2 separate regions of the Homo sapiens genome follow, and region 2 is linked to region 1. The links are contacts of gene promoters, found by promoter capture Hi-C in blood cells and fetal thymus (Javierre and others, 2016). All regions are on one chromosome and are shown on one strand. Each heading gives the region's core, a stretch centred on a gene start or on the middle of the fragment in contact. The rest is flanking DNA. Distances are from core to core; before and after follow the strand shown. Region 1 holds the start of ZNF184 (zinc finger protein 184). Region 2 holds the start of TRV-CAC6-1 (tRNA-Val (anticodon CAC) 6-1).

The links. The method cuts DNA at HindIII sites, captures the fragments that hold promoters and counts their contacts. A CHiCAGO score of 5 or more calls a contact.
Region 2: a fragment that was not itself captured here is called in contact with the fragment with the promoter of ZNF184 in region 1 in 1 of 17 cell types (megakaryocytes); the score reaches 10.1 in megakaryocytes.

The regions. Positions count from the first base shown.
Region 1 is chr6:27,471,637-27,475,470 of GRCh38, reverse strand. It overlaps ZNF184 (zinc finger protein 184), which reads left to right and starts at 2,366. Exons shown (of 6, transcript NM_001318891.2): 1 at 2,366-2,742; 2 at 3,038-3,183. The coding sequence starts at 3,177. LOC105375001 (a long non-coding RNA gene) reads right to left here and starts at 2,347. Exons shown (of 2, transcript XR_926664.4): 1 at 2,162-2,347; 2 at 1-377. RefSeq lists enhancers at 2,355-2,514, 2,575-2,674, 2,695-2,784, 3,115-3,244. The HindIII fragment of the contact is 5,482 bases long and covers 966-3,834 here.
Region 2 is chr6:27,205,811-27,209,930 of GRCh38, reverse strand. It overlaps TRV-CAC6-1 (tRNA-Val (anticodon CAC) 6-1), which reads left to right and starts at 3,771; the gene lies at 3,771-3,843. It overlaps TRS-CGA2-1 (tRNA-Ser (anticodon CGA) 2-1), which reads right to left and starts at 82; the gene lies at 1-82. The HindIII fragment of the contact is 2,255 bases long and covers 438-2,692 here.

The sequences.
Region 1 (3,834 bases), core at 1,117-3,616:
AAAATCCACTGAACGTCACTTATTCTTCCCTCTTAAAATCCACTGAACGTCACTTATTCTTCCCTCTTAAAATCCACTGAATGTCACTTATTCTTCCCTTTTTCCCTCCCCCTAAGCCCCTGGCAACCACCAATCTTTGCTGTTTCCATAGATTAGCCTTTTCAGGAATGTTATGTAGATGGAATTATACAGTATATAGCCTTTTCCAGATTGACTTCTTTCACTCACCAATACGCACTTAATATTCTTCTGTTCTTCCTTTTTGGTAGCTTGATAGCTCATTTCTTTTCCTTACTGAATGTTCCATTGTCTGAATGTACCATAGTTTATGTATTCATTCATGTACTGAAGGACATCTGGCTGCTTCCAAGTTTTGCCTATCATGAACAAAGCTGCTATAAACATTCTTGGGCACGTTTTGTGTGGACATACATTTTCAACTCCTTTGCATAAATACCAAGGAACACAATTACTAGATCATATGGTAAGAGTATGTTTAGTTTTGTAAGAAATTGTCAAACTGTCCTCCAACGTAACTCTAATATTTTGCATTCCCACCAGCAATGAATGAAAGTTCCTGTGCTCCACATCCTTGTCAGCATTTGGTATTGTCAGGGTTCTGGATTTTGGCCATTTTGACAGGTGTATAGTGGCATCCCATTGTTTTAATTTGCATTTCACTGAGGACATATGTGGAGCATCTTTTCATATGCTTATTTTCCATCTGCATATCTTCTTTGGTGACATCTGTTAGGGTCTTTGGCCTATTTTTTTAATCGGTTTGTCTCCTTATTGTTGAGTTTTAAGAGTTCTTATATATTTTGGATATCAGTTCTTTATCAGATATGTACTTTGCAAGTATTTTCTCCCAGTCTGTGACTTGTCTTTTCATTCTCTTGAACATTTTTTTTTAAACCAATGTTCTCTTCATGGCAATATATGCATTCTCTAAGATGACCGAAGCTTTCTCTATCATGTTCCCTTGACTGTAATTGTTTTTCATACACTCTGTTAGGATTTCCAGGTTTAATGTTTGTCAGCCAACAGTCTGAGAGACTTGACCTTGGCCCCTTATCCAAATGCTGGGGATGCACGCCAGCATAATAAAATGCAAGTGCCATGTCTTAAATATAAAAACCTACCGATTTGTTGGATTCTTTTTTTCTGCCAAGGACACAGTGACAGACTGGCCATGGGCTACACTTGCAGCTATGTGCTCGCTGACACAGGCATATAAAATGCTTTACTAAGTGGCAAAACATGGGAATATTATCTCCGGGTTTCCTTAAGCATTAGAAAAACATGTTGGGGCCGGGCGCAGTGGCTCACGCCTGCAATCCCAGCACTTTGGGAGGCCGAGGCGGGCGGATCACTTGAGGTCAGGAGTTCGAGACCAGCCTGGCCAACATGGTGACCCCCTCGTCTCTACTAAAAATACAAAAATTAGCCGGGGATGGTGGTGCATGCCTGTAATCCCAGCTACTCGGGAGGCTGAGGCAGGAGAATCGCTTGAACCCGGGAGGTGGAGGTTGCAGCGAGCCGAGATCGCGCCATTGCACTCCAGCCTGAGCAACAGAGCTAGATTCCGTCTCAAAAAAAAAAAAAAAAAAAAAAAAGTTGGTCGCCACTCATTTGAGAGTCGTGAAAACAATTTTAATGGGTAACTACCAGTATTTTCAAAACGACAAAAGAGTAGAACAGAAAATAGAAGGTAGAACATGTAATAAAGGTAACGATTGTTTGCGTTTTAAAACTGTGTGTAGACGTGTATTTCTTTTTTTTCTTTTCTTTCTTTCTTTTTTTTTTTTTTGTTGTTTTGTTTTTTTGAGACGGAGTCTCGCTCTGCCGCCCAGGCTGGAGTGCAGTGGCGCGATCTCGGCTGACTGCAACCTCTTCCTCCCGGGTTCAAGCGATTCTTCTGCCTCTGCCTCCTGAGTAGCTACAGGCGCGCGCCACCACGCCCGGCTAATTTTTGTATTTTTAGTAGAGACGGGGTGTCACCATATTGGCCAGGCTGAGTCTCGAACTCCTGACCTAGTGATCCACCCACCTCGGCCTCCCAAAGTGCTCAGATTACAGACGTGAGCCACTGCGCTCGGTCAGTAGACGTGCATTTCTTATAATCAGTTCAGTCAGACAAGTTTACAATGCACACGCATACCTGAAACAGGAGCAAAAGACTGGCGGCGAAAATGTGCGGCCCATCGCAGGGCGAAAGTACACGTTAGCTAAAGCCTCTGGGAAATGAAGTTCAGGAACACCTTCGCGGAGTGTTCTGGGAACGCTGGTCCAGTGTGCCCGCCCGGCGCCGGCGTGCGGGGCGGGGCTCGCTCGTAACGACCGGAAGTGACCGTTGAAGCCGGTTGTAGGCGTGGAAAGAGGTTGGCGCGCTGGAAGTCCAGTTGCTTCGGCTCCCTGCGTTAGGTCTGGTGGCGGTCAATGCGCTTCCGGACCCGGGATCAGAGTGTGTGGATCGCTATAGGGGGAGGGGAGCTCAGGTATCACCATGGCAACAGCCAGCCCTCCGGACTCGTGACGTCACCCTTCTGATTTCGCGCTTAGAGGCCTCTGCAGGAGAAAGCTGGGGAGTCCTCGAAGGGGGCGCACCTCGCCTCCTTCTGTGCGGGGCGGTCCCGCCCTGATCCCTTGGAGGGCTTTGTTCTTTTGTTCTGGCCTAAGGGGAAGTCGGGTGCCGGGCCCCGCCCTGTTTGTCCACCTTCCAGCTTTAACGCTCTGCAACAGGTGTGTCTTCGTGTTATCCGAGCTCGCAGGGGTGTGAGTCACAAGTGTGCACAGAGGGAACACACCAGGTCTGTGGATGCCCCGGCCAGATTCTAGGGTGGGCACCAAGGGTTTTTTGGATCTGAAGCAGAACCCGCGTACCCGATCTCCACTCTGTTTTGTTCATCGGAGTGCCACACACCTCTCTAGTGCTCTCTTGGGGCACTTCTCTTGTGTAGCACCTCTTGGTCACTTTGCAAGACTCTGATGTGTGATTGTGTGACGTATGCTGCTGACGCCATCCTGTGTCTTTTAGGGTAGACAACCTCAGCGTGTTGCAGATTCCCTGCAAGGGGAGTTAGACATCTGAGTCCTAGACCGAGATACCAGCTGAAGGAACGCTGCCTGGCGAACCCTGGTGTTCAAGTTCCAGAGGAACGGGATGAGCTCCTGAGATGGAAGGTAGTGGGGTCGACTTGGGGGAGAGCGGGGTGATGGAGGCTTGAGAACAGTCATGACTGGAGTATCAAATACTTGAGATCAGAGCAGGAGATTTGGAAGGAAGGAACGGTATGCTTAGGGATTAGCAAAGAAACCGAATTACATTGTAGGGAGAGATTCTGTTTTATAGAGAGATACTTGGGAGAGGAGTTTATTTTTTTCTTTCGTTCCATTGGGGAATGAAAAGACATAATCATTCAGAATATCTGTGATCCCCACATGACTTCTGAATATTAAATATTAAAATTATAATCTTGAAGTCAGAAGACATCTTGGCAATTATCCCTTCAATGAAAGAGTCAGTTTTGAAATCTCCTTGGCAGACGGCTGTCTGTCAACCCTATGCCCGAACTAGTGTGGCATTAAACTCGCCATTTTGGGTGCAGACTATTCCCTTGTTGGCTTTCTTTTTTAGTTTCTTATATTAAACAGATGTACTTGTCCCTGTAACTTTTGTGTTGATCTTAGTTCTTAGTCCTCCAAAGAAAAGGAAACTGTCTGTTCTTTCTTTCACACTGCTGCCCTTAAGATATGTGAATTCAGCTGTTACAACTCCTCCTCATAAATTCTTTTCTAAGCAATATAGCCTCACTTCTTTTGATTGGTCTATGT
Region 2 (4,120 bases), core at 316-2,815, 260 kb after region 1:
CGCTGTGAGCAGGATTTGAACCTGCGCGGGGAGACCCCATTGGATTTCGAGTCCAACGCCTTAACCACTCGGCCATCACAGCCCTCTAAATGGTTACTATTTATGCATCAAAAACACATACGCATAGGGCCCTGCATGCTGTAATTCTCACTGCTAGCCTCTCTTGTTTATTTGTATGTGGGGCTGTGGGGCTGCAGCTGTTTACTTTCAAGTGGTGCCTGCATATTGTACAGAACATACAGAACATCTATAAACCATTCTTGAGTTTTTTCTTCTTCAGTCAACTGGTCATTTAGAACTCTTATGAGGCCATAGATGTAGATGTACACACACACACACACAAATAAACAGAAGGCAATATAGCAAGAGTAGATGCCATAAACAGCTGTGCCACTTCCTCATGCAACCTACTTGTGCCTTTAGGAGCTGCTCAAGCTTTATTTAATACATCCCATTTCCATTTGATAATGGAACGCTGCTGTGCATGTCTAAATTTATGGCTTGGTAACACACACTATCCAGTTCAAGATCTGCATCTGAGGCCATATGGTAATGTGGTGGTATGTGGTCAAGCATTCAGACTGTACTAAGAACCTGGTTAAAAAAAAAAAAAGCTGGTAAAAGCTACTTGTCTAAAGAAGAGTAGTTACCCACAGAGGATGGCAAAACTTTGCTCTGAAATTCTAAAGTTCTGTGCCGTGATTCACCTGTAGAAATTTGCCAAAGCCTCCAGATAACATCCCTCTTCTCTGACACTTGAAGAAAGATCAATTCTTCTGGTTCTTATGGTCCCAGTGGCAGAGTCGCTTGAGCTGCAACGTGGTCCTGTTGCAGAACCATTTCCTGTTCTAGGCCCCCACTCAAAACTGGGATATTTTCAGGTTACTTGATAAATGGTTTGGTGTAGCGTGCCCAAATGTTGCCTCCCAAATCCAAAGAGTTCTACTCAGTATGTTCTACTCAGTATTGTACCACTTTCTTTCTTTCTTTTTTTTTTTTTTTTTTGAGACGGAGTCTGTCGCCCAGGCTGGAGTGCAGTGGCACGATCTCGGCTCAATGCAAGCTCCGCCTCCCGGGTTCACGCCATTCTCCTGGCTCAGCCTCCCGAGTAGCTGGGACTACAGGGGCCCGCCACGCCCGGCGAATTTTTTGTATTTTTTTTTTTATTATTAGTGACGGGGTTTCACTGTGTTAGCCAGGATGGTCTCGATCTCCTGACCTCGTGATCCGCCCGCCTCGACCTCCCAAAGTGCTGGGATTAGAGGCGTGAGCCACCGCGCCCGGCCACCGCTTTCTTAATAAGAAAAGGTATCAGATGCAGCAACTCATAATGTTGCAGACAATTGGACACCTAGAAATTTCACTGAGGTAGTAAGGCTCTGATTCTTTGTGAGGTTTATTTCCCACCGTCTGGCATACAAATGTCTTACCAATGTTATAGAGTAGTTGCTACCTTCTTGTCACTAAAAATATAATTAATGTAAGAGACCAGTATGATGTTCTATGGAATGGTAAGGTGATAAAACTCCCTGTGGACTAGTTGGTGACACAGGGTTAGAGACTCAATATATCCCCAAGGTAGTGAGACAGCCAGGTGGGAGGGGGTCCCTGGATTCCAACCAGCCTACCCACTGAGGTGGAGCCTCAGGAAGTTCATGATGTTTGCAGCTGGGAGGATCCTGGCCCTTCCTCTTCCTATGTGGAACCTGGGATTCCAACTGCTGGGCAGGAAGTAGAAGCGCTCTAGTGGAGGGACTCTGGCCTTGCGAGAGTCCCTGTTTCCCCCTTTTTCCCTTTTCACCCAATAAAACCCTGTCTTACTCACCAAATTGTCTGCAAGCCTGAATTTTCATGGCTGTGGGACAAAGAACCCCATCTTTAGCTGAACTAAGGAAAAGTCCTGCAACAGTAGGGCAGATAAGGTGTACTGCTGGCCTTGCCAGCTAAAAGACCACTGCTTCTGATGGTCTTAATGATTAAGTATAGAGAAAAAAGAACTAACCATATCAATAACAGCATAGCAGGTACCAGGAGATGTGTTAATATTTCCATTAATGAAACCACATCTGGAATAGCAGATGCAATTGGAATATTTACCTGACTAAATTTTCAATAATTCACCATCATTCTCCATAATCCATTTGTCTTCCGCAGTTGAATAATGAGTTGAATAGAGATATGCTAAGAACCACCAGCCCTGCATCTTTCAAGTCCTTGATGGTGCCATCCTTTCTGCAATCCCTCCAGGAGTACAATATTCCTTTCGGTTTATAATTTTCATAGGTAGAGGAATTTCCAGTGGCTTCCCCTTGGCCTTTTATACCATAATAGCCTGCACTCTATCACTCATAGAAACAATATAAATATTCTGTTTGGAATTGGGAAAATAACTACAGAGTAGGTTCAGGGATCTGCTGTGCCTATAGTGAAATGCACCAGAGGCAAAATTTCATTGAATGTCTGACCTCTCTGAGTCCCTAATTTGCCAGGTGGACAATAGTGATGCTTAGTATCTCTAGGAATTAATGTCAGTTCAGGATCTTTGTTTAGTAATTCCTGAAAAGTCTGCCTATTTCCCCTTTCCCAAAGCACAGTCACTCTGGTAAATGGATACAGGCCCCTTTAGAGAAGGGAGGAAGAATAACAGTATAAATTTGTACTAAGCTATGAGTATTCTTTCTCAAGAGAAGCTTACCTTCTCCTCAGTCAAAGCTGGCTCATATCTGGGAATTGGTTGGGAGGCCATGATTCTCTGTTTTGCTGATTCAGGTCAGACTTCTATCTACTAGACTTTTCTGCTTATATAGATCAAGTAAGATATTAATAAGTTGCATACTTATTTTAATTCTAGGGATGTTATATAGTATAGTCATCAATGTCAAAGATCTCTGAGTCAGACTATTCTGATTACTGCTTGTACTCATTATAGTAAACACACCTGTATTAGTAAACTTGAGCTGCCATAAGATACCACAGACTGAGTGGATTGAACAAAAATTACTTTTCTCACAGTTGTAGAGGCTACAAGTCCAAGATGACTTAAAATATTTTGCCTTAATATAATGTGTCCAGTACAATTGTGCTAGAAAGAGCATAAGATTCAAAAGTTAGATGAACTATAATCTTGTTTTGATTCTTGTCTTCAATGGCTATACCTTTGGGCAATAAGACAATAGAAAAAATATATCATCATGATCTTATAAGGAAGACATTACTAGACTCTGATTTCCTTGGGGGCAAAGACTGTATCTTTTTGCATTTGCTTTCTGTAGCAGAGTTGGTGGTGTTCTTTGCATGTTTCATCTGCTTCCCTATATTTCCCAGAAGCCATGACTACTTCTAGTTATTTGACTGCAAACAAAATGATGAGAGCAGCTATGGCAGAAAGTGCTGATGGCCTCCAATCATCTCCTGGTCTCAGGTCGCTCCTTCATGGTTTTCCCAAAAGTCACCAAGATATGACTATCGGGGCGGGTTTTGCAGATAAAGAAACGTGCATAGACAGCATAGGGAGGTCTTGAAATAAAATTCTGTAGCATTCCGTTCTAGCTTTCCATGTTTGAAATTTGTGCGGGAATTGGAGCCCTGGGGAAGCTTGGTTATGAATTGCTTTTCTTTTCGAAAACAGTAAAAGGAGAGAACTGCACCACAACGATCATTTTCTAAACAGACGTATAAGGCAGTCCAGGCCCTTCAGGCAAAGCCCTCTTAGTTAAGCGGCGGGGTGGGGATGGGGGCGGGGGGGATGTGGGTAACCCTTTCCCACAGTTGTTTCCGTAGTGGAGTGGTTATCACGTTCGCCTCACACGCGAAAGGTCCCCGGTTTGAAACCAGGCGGAAACATTCTTTACTCGTTTGGTAGATTTTCTACTCCATAAAAATATAAATGTTTAAGAAAAATCAAACTGATAAATTTGCCAGACTTTGAAAACAGGAGCTCTCCCTGAGAAGCTCTCGCAGCCACGTGGTTTCGCCACTGTAAAAGAGCTTTCCCCCTCTCCCTGTCACTTCTGCGGGGTTTCCTCTAGGTCTAAAAGGGGTCCTTGGAAGAGTGTAAGAGAAAGGAACCGGGCCACGGGCATGGTTGTTACTTACTTTCGGAATCTGGATTTCTTTGAAA